Regions from separate parts of the Homo sapiens genome. Here all the other regions are linked to region 3. Evidence: promoter capture Hi-C in 16 types of primary human blood cells and fetal thymus (Javierre and others, 2016). All regions are on one chromosome and are shown on one strand. The core of a region is centred on a gene start or on the middle of the fragment in contact, and the rest is flanking DNA. Distances in the headings are between cores, read along the strand shown.

What was found. The method cuts DNA at HindIII sites, captures the fragments that hold promoters and counts their contacts. A CHiCAGO score of 5 or more calls a contact.
Region 1: a contact is called between a fragment that was not itself captured here and the fragment with the promoter of NR2F1-AS1 in region 3, in 3 of 17 cell types (M2 macrophages, naive CD8 T cells and total CD4 T cells). The highest score is 7.6, in M2 macrophages.
Region 2: a fragment that was not itself captured here is called in contact with the fragment with the promoter of NR2F1-AS1 in region 3 in 3 of 17 cell types (naive CD8 T cells, M0 macrophages and M1 macrophages); the score reaches 10.0 in naive CD8 T cells.

The regions. Positions count from the first base shown.
Region 1 is chr5:91,510,496-91,514,190 of GRCh38, forward strand. No RefSeq gene overlaps it. Among named protein-coding and RNA genes, the nearest start is that of ARRDC3, 130 kb to the left of the region's middle. The HindIII fragment of the contact is 4,377 bases long and covers 1-3,695 here.
Region 2 is chr5:91,487,684-91,491,480 of GRCh38, forward strand. No RefSeq gene overlaps it. Among named protein-coding and RNA genes, the nearest start is that of ARRDC3, 110 kb to the left of the region's middle. RefSeq lists an enhancer at 1-205. The HindIII fragment of the contact is 5,127 bases long and covers 1-3,797 here.
Region 3 is chr5:93,579,720-93,583,135 of GRCh38, forward strand. It overlaps NR2F1-AS1 (NR2F1 regulatory antisense RNA 1), which reads right to left and starts at 1,500. Exons shown (of 8, transcript NR_186187.1): 1 at 1,423-1,500. RefSeq lists an enhancer at 1,676-1,775 and a silencer at 1,896-1,945. The HindIII fragment of the contact is 7,751 bases long and covers 1-3,416 here.

The DNA of each region.
Region 1 (3,695 bases), core at 383-2,882, 2.1 Mb before region 3:
GATAAAAAATCTAGAGATATATAAAGGAAAAGATAATGATTTCCACATATGTGTCTATTTCTATCTCCCCTGAAATCAACTACATTAATAGTACAATGTGTGATATTCTGCATCTTTCTTCATGTCTATGCCAATGTATCAAACATGTATACACTTACTTAGGTTTTTAAATAAGAAAATCTTACTTTACATATTGTCATCACTTTGCTTTTTTCGTAGACTTCCAGATTAATAAAGTTAAAACATTCCCTTTAGTGGCTGGTTTATATTGCATGGAATGGACATACTACAGTATGTTTAATCATATTCCTATAGATGATATTCAAGCTGATTTCAGTTTTCTTTTAACACAAAAGTATCCTTGTACCTATATTCCTATGTTCTGATGCTCGCATTGTTGTCCAATATGTTTCCTAAAGTGGAATTTCTGCTTTTAAGAATATTTGAAATTTCACTTTTAATAGGTATTACTAGATTATTTTCTAAGAGCTTTTTAGCATTTTATATGGCCTCCATTGCATAGAAAGTACTAGTTTTTCTACATTCTTCGCAGCATGCATTAATATTTTTAACTTTGCCATTTTGACAGGTGGCATCACATGTTTTTTAAATTTTAATTTCCCGACTATTAGTGAGATTATACACCATTTCATTTGTTTGTTTATAGTTGGAATATGTGCTTCCTAAAATTGCCCACTTTTGTATTGGCTCTTTTTCATTTATCAGTTTGTACGACTGCTTTCTACTCTCTCAGGCTAGTAATAAGTTGTGCACATGTACCCTAGAAATTAAAGTATAATTATATATATATACACACACACATATATATACACACACACACACACATATATATATACACATATATATGTATATACATATATATATAAACTCAGGAAAAAAAAAGACTTGGCCAACTCTCACTCTTCTCTTACTTGTTGGGAAGAAGATTCTCTGGTCTGAGATTTTTTAGGGTCCAAAGTTAGTCCTCTCATCACAGAGACTGGGAGCAATTTAGTTTTGTCAAGCAGCTAGCTGTCTTCTAGGACAACTGGGGCCAGTGGGACTGTGCTGCTGGCCCAAGGACTCCACATAGCATGTGCCTAGGAGGAATTTTCTCTCACTGTTCAGTGGATGAATGGATTCTGTTGACTTTTGCTAACTGTACTCTGTAGAAAAGCCAACAAATTTGAGATCTCTGCCTTGGAGGAGAAGCTGTTCCTTTTCTTTGTAATTTTTCCCTTGACTGTCATCTGCCTTTTAGAAGGGAGTTTCGATCATGGTCTCCTTGGAGATGTGGATAGAAGTAGGGATCTCAGAGACATCCCCTAGTCTCTGCCAGTATGCTTGCAGTGGTTGTTGAATTACTCCAGAGGGACTGTAGAAGGCAAGTGTGACAAAGATATTTGCTGACACTACTTAGATTTTCTGTGTTCAGATTTTAAATTACAGATTTACTTGACTTATAAGGAGAAGTTTTTGAATTTGGGCTTTCAAAATTGTTGTTGAAATGCTTCTCACTTTGGAATTGTCTAACTAATAAAGTTGTGCAGCCAATATAGTGTAGCAATTAATAATTAGAATTTTGAAAAGAAAGAAATTTAAGATCCTAGTGATTTTGCTTGTTAACAGGGCGTCATTTCTTTATAGAATAAACATCATTATTCTTACATTGTAGGATCATTTTTGAAATTGGGAGTTAAATTTTAAGAAGTTATCTAAGATGCTTAGCAGAATGTCTGATGCATTGTAAAGACCTACTATATAAGAGCTTTAAAAGAATGTTTAAAATTAAACCTGTAAGTGAACATTAATATTAAATTAATTTTCTGGTTCTGGTAAGTCTAACTACTGTGATTTCCCTTTACTTAGCAGTTTTCACCATTGCTATTCTAACAAACATCTCTCCATGTAATTTCTTTACATGTATCAAGGTTTTTCAAGCAGTTTATTCTTTTTCCAACTCTGCAAAAGGGACAGGTTTCCCTTACAATTTTAGAGTTTTCACTTAAATTGCATTAAATATAAAATGCACATTTGCTATGGTCTCTGTGGTAATCAATATTTTACTTATTTGATTTTTTTGAGAGAATCCCAATCATAGTTTTTGAAACTATTTTTAATAGATTAAAATTGGTTTAATAAAAGTAATGTCAGTAACAGACAACTCACTGAATGGAACAATCATAAATGTTTTCCCTCTCCTTTCGTAAAGGTTTCAGGTAAACCTTGAGTTTAAAGTAAAGACTTAAGCAGCCTTAGGCTCTGCAAATAACAGCTCTAGCAACAAATCAAAGAATGATGTTTATGTTCTTCCATAGAAAGATCGTTACCAATTGATCTTTTCAGCAAAACCTACACACGCGAGTAGCTGTAGAATAATTGCAGTAGAATCAGTATACCTTTTGAAAGTGACCAACAATGTTATTTGATGCGATAAACCATTTGAAGGCATTCTATCTGGAACACATGGAAATATTGAACTTTATTTTGATTATGTATTGGTAAAAACTCATGTTTTTTTCTTGAAGTTTAATTATTGTGTTTAATTGTGTATTTCATGGTGAAATGTACCAGTAATGACTATCCATGATTCAAGTAAAAGGTAGTTGATCTTAGAGCTTTTAGACAAAAAGGCTTGCATTTACATCCATTCAATGAGCATTCTTTAAGCACTTCCTGTGCAATAGTTCCTGTGCTAGGTTCTGGGGATGCAATGATGGAAGACAGAAATGGTCATGGTCCTTGTGAAGTCACAGCTTAGTGGAGGCACCATGTGTTAAACAGATAGTTATAAGAGTAATAAATTACAGTTGTGGTAAATGCCATGAAGGGAAAGTATAGACAGAAGGAGAATCAGGGAGACCACTACATGGTTGCCTTAATATTCAGATCTCGCGCAATAGAATTCACTGTTATTAACGTATCACCACATTTTACAGTAGATGTCTTGAACTTATTCCTCCTTTCTAACTGAAATTTTGTGTCCTTTGACCAACGTCTCCCTGCTACAGCCCCCATCCCCTAGCGATCATCATCCTACTATTTGCTGCTATGAGTTCAACTCTTTTAGATTCCACATATAAGTGAGATCATGTGATATCTTTCTTTCTGTGTCTGTCGTATTTCACTTAGCTTAATGGCCTCCAGGTTCATCCATGTTGTTGCAAATGACAGGTTTTTCTTTTTTTAAGGCTGAATAGTAGTCCGTTGTATACATATACCACATTTTTGTTATCCATTCATCTGTTGATTAAGTTGATTCTATATCTTGATTATTGTGAATAATGCTGCAATGAGCTCAGGAGTGCAAATATCTATTCCAGATCCTGATTTCAATTCTTTTGGATAAATACCCAGAGGTAGAACTCTTTGATCACATGCTATTTTTTTTTATTTTTATGGAAACCCCATACTGTTTTCCATAATGGATATACTAATTTACACTTCCACAAAGTGTACAAATATTCCCTTTTCTCTACATACTTGTCAACACTTATCTTTTGTCTTTTTTATAATATCCATCCTGGTGTAAGGTGATAGCTCATTGTAGTTTTTATTCACATTTCCCTGATGATTAGTGATGTGTTGAATGTTTTCATGTACTTGTTGACTGTTTGGATGTCTTTAGAGAAAGGGCTGCTCAGGTTTGTTTTTTTTTTCCCATTCTAAAAATCAGGTTATTTGTTTTCTTGCTA
Region 2 (3,797 bases), core at 292-2,791, 2.1 Mb before region 3:
CTCAGCAGAGCCCAGTCAATCCACAGAGCCATGAGAGACTATACATTGCTTTAAGCTACTAGAATTTGCAACGTTTTGTAATGCATAGATAACCAAAACAATAACCATTTATTCCCACTTTGCACACTTCTTTCTCTCCACATGGAATACCTTGCTTTGATACTTTTCTAGCATTCCACTAGCAAATCTTTCATCTGGCCTCTATTTCAAAATTCCAAATAGAATTCACCCTCTCTTGAGTAACTTTCCTTGTTTTCGACTCTTCCCTCAACACGTGGGATTTAATTTGTCTCATGATAATTTTTACTTAGTGACACTGTGTTTCAAAAGTTTTTGATTCATTCTCTAGGGTATATGCTCTGCTTTTTTTCATATAGTTGTAACATTTTTAACACAGATTAAATTTCTTATACTCCCTCCACCCCCAACCACAGCTCCAAGTTCATACTCATCACTTCAAAATTTTAACCAACTAAACCTCTTCTAGAGTGCTTCTTGGACTTGAAGGATAAGTTTTACACTCTTTGATGGTCTAGCCACCATACTGAACTTGTTTAACATGAACTATTGATCACCACATGAAACTTTCTGTTCTATACCACATTAATGGTTTGAAAGTCTGTGGGCTGTTTAGTTATCTTGAGTTGCTATTGACCCGTTTTCTTATTTTTCCCTGTTGCTGCCTTGACTTGGCCTATTACACCTCAGCCCTGTGGCCCTGGTAGTTTTTTCCAGTGTGCCCAAATTATTTCTGGCTTTAAGCCTTTGCCTTTGGGTTCCTTCAACCCCAAATTCTTTGCCCAGGCTCTCTCATATCCTCCTGCTCTCAACTGAAATGTCACATCCTTCAAGCCCTTTTCTGGCCATCTACTCCACAGTAGCTCCAAATTCCATGCTTGTCTCTCCTATTATTTGACTTTATTTTTTCATGACATTCATAGTTACATGGAATGATCTACGTAATTATGTTTTTTTTGTTGTTGTTGTTGACTATAGATAGGCCTGTTTGGGGTACATAGCATGAGTGAGAAATTTTGGTGTTTGGCCACTGGGATTTTGTGGTTGTTTACTCCCTGGCTCCCCTTACTCTTGTTTGTCCTCTCACTAGTATGTGAAGTTCAAGAAAAAAAAAAAACAACTTTTGTTATTTCAGGTATTGTCACATTCTCAAAAGAATGGCAGAGTGCCATACTATTAGGCATATTGTAGGTATTCAGCAAATATTCATTAGATGAATGATCAAACTCCCATATTCCTCTTGCCACCAGCATAGGGTGGGCCTTAGGAAACCAGCTGAAGGTAGGAGCAGTTGATTCTGCACTCTGGGAACTACAATGACATCTTCTCAATGGTTTGGGCCAGGGGCACCAGTAACAGTGGGTTTTAATAAGTTTGAAAGAACCTCAACCCATTCTGTTAAGGTTAAATAAGAAATATTAGATTCTTAAATTTCTTATTAATATTTTTGTTCTGAAAAATCTGTCTTTATGCTTCAACAAGCCAGAACTGGGATGACTGTGCCAAAACAACAATTTTTATTTTAAATTATTTTTATGACTCTGCCAATTGGTAAAAGGTTTCAATTTTAAAGATCAGTGCTTTTATTAAACTATGGGCAGAATATTTGCCTTCTTCTCACTTAAATATACACAGTCACTTAAATAATGGAATCAGTTGGTCATCTCATCTAGAGTCATATAGGTAATTTTCTCTCTCACTGTGTAAGATGACAGATTCCAGAGCTAATATATGGTTTTCAAGATTCTACAAAGAGAGTTGCCTGGAATAAACGTGTACATTTTTTTTTCTTTGAAAACCTGCAAGTTTAAGATGTTTAGCGTTCATCCATATCCTGTTTTTTCCTTCCAGGCAAATGGGGGGATTATGTTTCTTCCCCAACTTCCAGTTGGAGAGGAACCTTAAAACTAGTTCTGGCCAATGGGCTCTGAGCACAAGAGACATGTGCTCAGGTGTGTAATTTCATCATTTAATCACTAGCATGAGACCCTGCCTTCTCTTTCCTCCTTCTGTGATGTGGAAATTATTACTACCCAGCTCTCTATGGTGTCTCAGGAGGCTGCAGATTCCAGATGTGCAGACATAGGAGAGCAGAGTCTTCACAAACCGGGTTCCCTAAGTGACTCCCTGGTGGCCTATGTGGAGTCTGTAGCATGGGTCCCTCAGGCACTGCATCCCTAAGTGACTGTGGACCTCTTTGGGGTACATAGTATAAGTGAGAAATTATGGCATTGGCCATTGAGATTTGGTGGTTGGTTGTTATTGCACCATAGTCAATTCTAAATGTATAACATAGTTCAGGAATGAGATCTGAGGTTGATTTTTACTAGCTTTTTTCTAGTAGAAAAGATTTATAAATATTTGATAATCACTTTAAATTGCCTTTCAAATTACTTTTTTAAAGAAGAAATTTCTACAATGTGTATCCGAATTTAATGAAGGAGAATAGTTTGTGTGTTCCTGATTTTTCTTGATAGCATTGAAGAATATGTGGACACAGAGGAAAAAGCTCTAGGACTTCTGTGGTTTTAATTCACAAAATCATCTTTTATTTTTTCTTAAATTAGCTTCAGCTACTAGCACTTAAGATATTTCTCAGCTTTCATTTTTGTCATAGAAATTAGCATTTTTATTACCACAAATTATTCTTGTTTGCTAATTCCAAATATGTCCAAAAGCAAGAACAGCCTCCTGAGCTGTTAGACTTTGGAAGAGAATAGTAAATCAACTGGTGGATAGGACCATATATCATATTAAACACGGGAATTCACCACAAAATCATTACACTAAAAAGCGACAATTTTGATTGATTAAAATGGTATGGGCTGGAGAGTGTTAAATCACTGTGAGTAATATGACATTATAATTTTACATATCATATTTCTGCCAAGACAATGATGGTAAAAGGCATTGTCATCAGATGATAACAGACAATAAGAAGAATCCTGATGTTAGATTTATTACCGGGTTTAGATTTAGAAAGAAGTAATTCTTGTCCTGTTCCACTTATCAAATGACTGTAAATTCAGTGATGATGTAAAATTCTAAGGCAGAGCCACTTATAGATTTGACAAAGTGCCAGTTATAAACTATTTATTGTTCTCAGTGGTTCTGCCTTACACACTTAAATATTTATCAGAAACATAAGCCCCTCTGATAAATGTTTTGGATCTTTGTGGCTAATTTTTTTTTACATTTAGATTTTTCATCAGAAACAAAATCTGTATTTTTATTGTGTTAATAACACTGAATTCATAATTTGAAAGGATAATATATGAGTTTTAAAATTTGACTCCTTGTAACTTCTGACTTTAAGTGTGAAACTTTTGGAATAGTTCTTTATCCATGGGAGCATGCAGTCTTTGCTTGGTAGCATAGCCAATCGGACCAGGGATCAGCCTGTGAGGTAAAGAAAGGCAACTATGTGCTGGCCACTAATCCTGGGGTGGCAGGTTACGGCGTGAGAACCCTGGGACATAGCAGTGTTTTTTATATAGGAGACAGGAGACTGGAGCTAGCTACATCTTTTTATTAAGGCATTCAAATGTGAGACATATAAATGGTATAGCAACTCCAAAGCACAGAGAATCACAGAAAGAAAGCAATTAGTGGACTCCATAACGTTGCCAAAGCCACCAAATACAAAAGCCAAAAGTTGCAGGTAGAAAGTCAGAGTCACTAAGAAACAGCAGGAGAAGTAGATATTATAAAAACTGAAATAGAAAGTAGCTGAACCATCAGAAAACTGAAACATCACTCTAAAAGTGGGCTAGGTTGCA
Region 3 (3,416 bases), core at 250-2,749:
TTCAACACACCCCCTCTGTCCCCACCCCTGGGAGGCGACCCCCTCCCCGCCCCCAGCCGGCTGGCAGCGGCGCAGGGAGTCTGGCTCGGCTGCTAGGCTGCGAATCCCGGTGCTCTCTCGCCGCCGCCGCAGGTTGTCTGCTCGGGAGAGCGGCTCGATGTCCCTTTTAATCCGCTGACACTATCGCCCACATCAGACAGGCAGCCATCGATCGCGTTACATTAGGGGATGGCGTTACAAACGGCGTCCGCAGGTGGGCGGCTGCAGCCAAGCTCGCCAGGTTCAGGCCGTAACCAGGCAAGGCGCGGGCACAAGGGCCAGCCGGGCCGGACTCTGCAGCCGGCTCCACCGCGGGTCGCGCTCGGCACCAGCAGGAACAGCCGGGCCGGTGTTAAACGTGCGGGTCCCCGTCCTCCGCCCGGGCATCCGTTTCCCGCCTAGGAGAGAGAGGGAATAGCGGGTGGGGGTGGGAGCAGCCTGTTTTGAATGTGGATTGCTGCTCGCCTGGCACGATCCTCCCCTCCAAGGAGGCGCGGCGGCCGCGATCCTCGCCTTAGCGCTACGGCGAGACAGAGGCCGAGCGAGGGCAACTCCCGAGCAGGCCCCGAAGAAAGTTCTCCTCGTCCCGCCCTGGCTGCCTAGACTCTGCTCTCGGCCTGCGGAGGCCGTGCGAGCCAAGACTGCCTCCCGGCCCTGCCCGTTACCAACCCCAAGTTCAAGAGAAACGACAACCATTATGTTACTTGCCTGGTGAGGCAGGATTTGGCCGAGTCTCGTTTCTGGTGCCCACGACGCACGGTCCAGGGTCCGAGGGCGGCTGGGCCGGCGGACTGGGCATCCAGTGTGCCTGCGGTGCCCTGGCGCTCGCTGTCGCTGGTCTCCCACTCCCTTCGTCTCTCTCCGCGTTCTCCTTCCCTCGCCCTATCTCCCTCTCTCCGCCTGCTGCCTCTGCCCTCGACTCCCTGCCTCTGACTGTATGGGGAGTACGATTTAGAATCTGTACATAGAAAGGTTTTCTTTTCTTTCTTTTCTTTTGGTCTATTTTAATCGTGTTCGTTTCACCTTTTAACTGACCAGAAGACGGGAGCGCGTTTGCGCGTTTATTTGGGCATAGGGACGAGGGCAAGGAGCCCCTGCTACCCCCAGTCGCCTCCTCGCCATCAGCTGCGTACAATGGGCCACCGCTCGCGGAGTGCATTGACAGTTCTCCATTATTCGAGCTGGAGGGGCTGTGGGGCAGGCACGGGAAAACCTTTTATTCTGCTCTTTAAAATCATCGCTCGTCACTAAGCGGTCGCCGACTCCCGACTTGTAGGCTGGAGAGACCAGGAAGCGCAAAACGTCCCCCAAACACGCAGTGCTTCCCAAACCCCTCCCTGGTGAGACTTAAAGTGAGAACGAGTATTAAAAAACAAACCCTACCTCTGTCAATACAGCGTGGCCATTTACTTCCACCTTTACCTGAGGGCGTGTTGGCGCTAGGAATGCTCGAGCTGAGACAAACTTTTACGCCCTCGCGAGTCGAGGGGCGGGCGGGCGAGCGCGGCTCCCACCCCCGGCGGCGGCAGCGGCGGCTTTGTCACTCCGCGCGGCTCCGCGCCCGCCTGAGCCTGCCTAGGGGAGCGATCTCAAAACGAGGGGGGTGCGAGTATGCGATTGGAGAATATGTAACTAATAGAAGTATCATTTTCCCCCAGTACGATCTTTCAAGGAAAAAAAAATCCATTGAAAGAATTTTCAAAGTGCTGTCTTCGTTTGGAGAAAAGGCACAGGCTGCCTGCGGGGAGGGGAGGAGGGACTCGGCTGTGTGCCGCCCGGGAGCGGCTCCCGTCCGCTAGGTGGCAGCCGGAGCCAGCGATTCCTGCAAGCCCCGCCGCGGGACCCGCTCCTCCCGCCTGCCCCTCCTCCCGCGACCAATCACCTTCAGGATTCAGGAATCGGGGTCTCGGTCTCTCTCTCTCTCTCTCTCTCTCTCTCTCTCTCTCTCTCTCTCTCTCTCTCTCTCTCTCTCTCTCCCCCTCTCCCTCTCCCTCTCCCTCTCCTCTCTCCCTCTCCCTCTCCCTCTCCCTCTCCCTCTCCCTCTCCCTCTCCCTCTCGTCTCTCTCTCTCTCTCTCTCCTCTCTCTCTCTCTCTCCTCTCTCTCTCTCTCCTCTCTCCTCTCTCTCTCGGTCTCTCTCTCTCTCTCTGGGTCTCTCTCTCTCTCTCTCTCTCTGGGTCTCTCTCTCTCTCCTCTCTCTCTGGGTCTCTCTCTCTCTCCTCTCTCTCTCTCTCCCCTCTCCTCTCTTCTCTCTCTCTCTCTCTCAATATCTCGCGCGCTCTCCTCTCTCCTCTCTTTCCTTTCCTCTCCTCTCTCTCTGTCTCTCTCTCTCCTCCTCCCCCTTTTCTCTCTCCCTCTCCGCCTCCCCCCCTCTCCATCTTCTCGTTTGTTTGCTCTTTTCCCGGGACTGACTTGGCCACACTAATCTCCCCCCACCCTGCAACAATATGGGGACTTACTACTGTTTTATTAATAATGATTGAAGCATTGTTGGAGTTTGGAACAGCCAGGTGATAAAAAAAAAAAAAAAGAAGAAGGAAAAATTGGATTGATTGGAAAGTTTATTTTTAAAATCATCTTTGGGATAAATAGGAACCCTTGATTCCGATCGAATTTGTGGCAATAGCTGCAAATTCCAGGAGTGTGCTTTGTCATCATTAAACCTTTTAAACCAAGGTATACTTTGGATTAAAAAATAGGGAGATCCTACCCTGTTTCTACTTGTTTCTAAAAAGGATATAAAATGAGCAGAATCCAGACTTGGATTGTGCTTATATGTGAGAGAAGAAAACAATCCAAATCCAGTATATTTCACAAATCATTAAAATGGTGGGGGTTTCATTCCCATTAAAAATTTTTCCAAACATTTTCAATGACACTCTCTTCACGCTCATAAAATCTAATTTTAAAAACTTTTCAGAAGAAATCAAAATAATTTCCCTCTAATTCTCCTTTTGCCCATCGCTAGGCGTTCTCCCCCTCGTCATCCCTTCCCCCTCTGGGGTGTGAGCGTAAGTGTGTGTGTGTGTATGTGTGTGTGTGTGTGACCATAGACGACCCATACTAATCAGGTCTCAGAGTAAATAGCAGCGCAGGGCGATCTCAATGTAAATTGCGCTTGTCAGAAACACACCCCCCTCCCTCACTTTCTCTCCTCCTCCCCACACCATCCCAGTCTGTAGGTAGCTAAGCGGGGGGGGGAGAAAGAAAGCAAAAGAGGAGGGGGGAGGGGCTCTCCAACCAATGGCGTGCAGGAGGCTTGGCTAACCTTAGCCTCCCATTTTCTCTCCCCCCGATTCAGGGCTCTGACCAGTCAGTCGCCTTTGATTATCAGTTGCCAGCAGCCCTTCTCTTGGCTCCTTGACACGAGCTCCATATA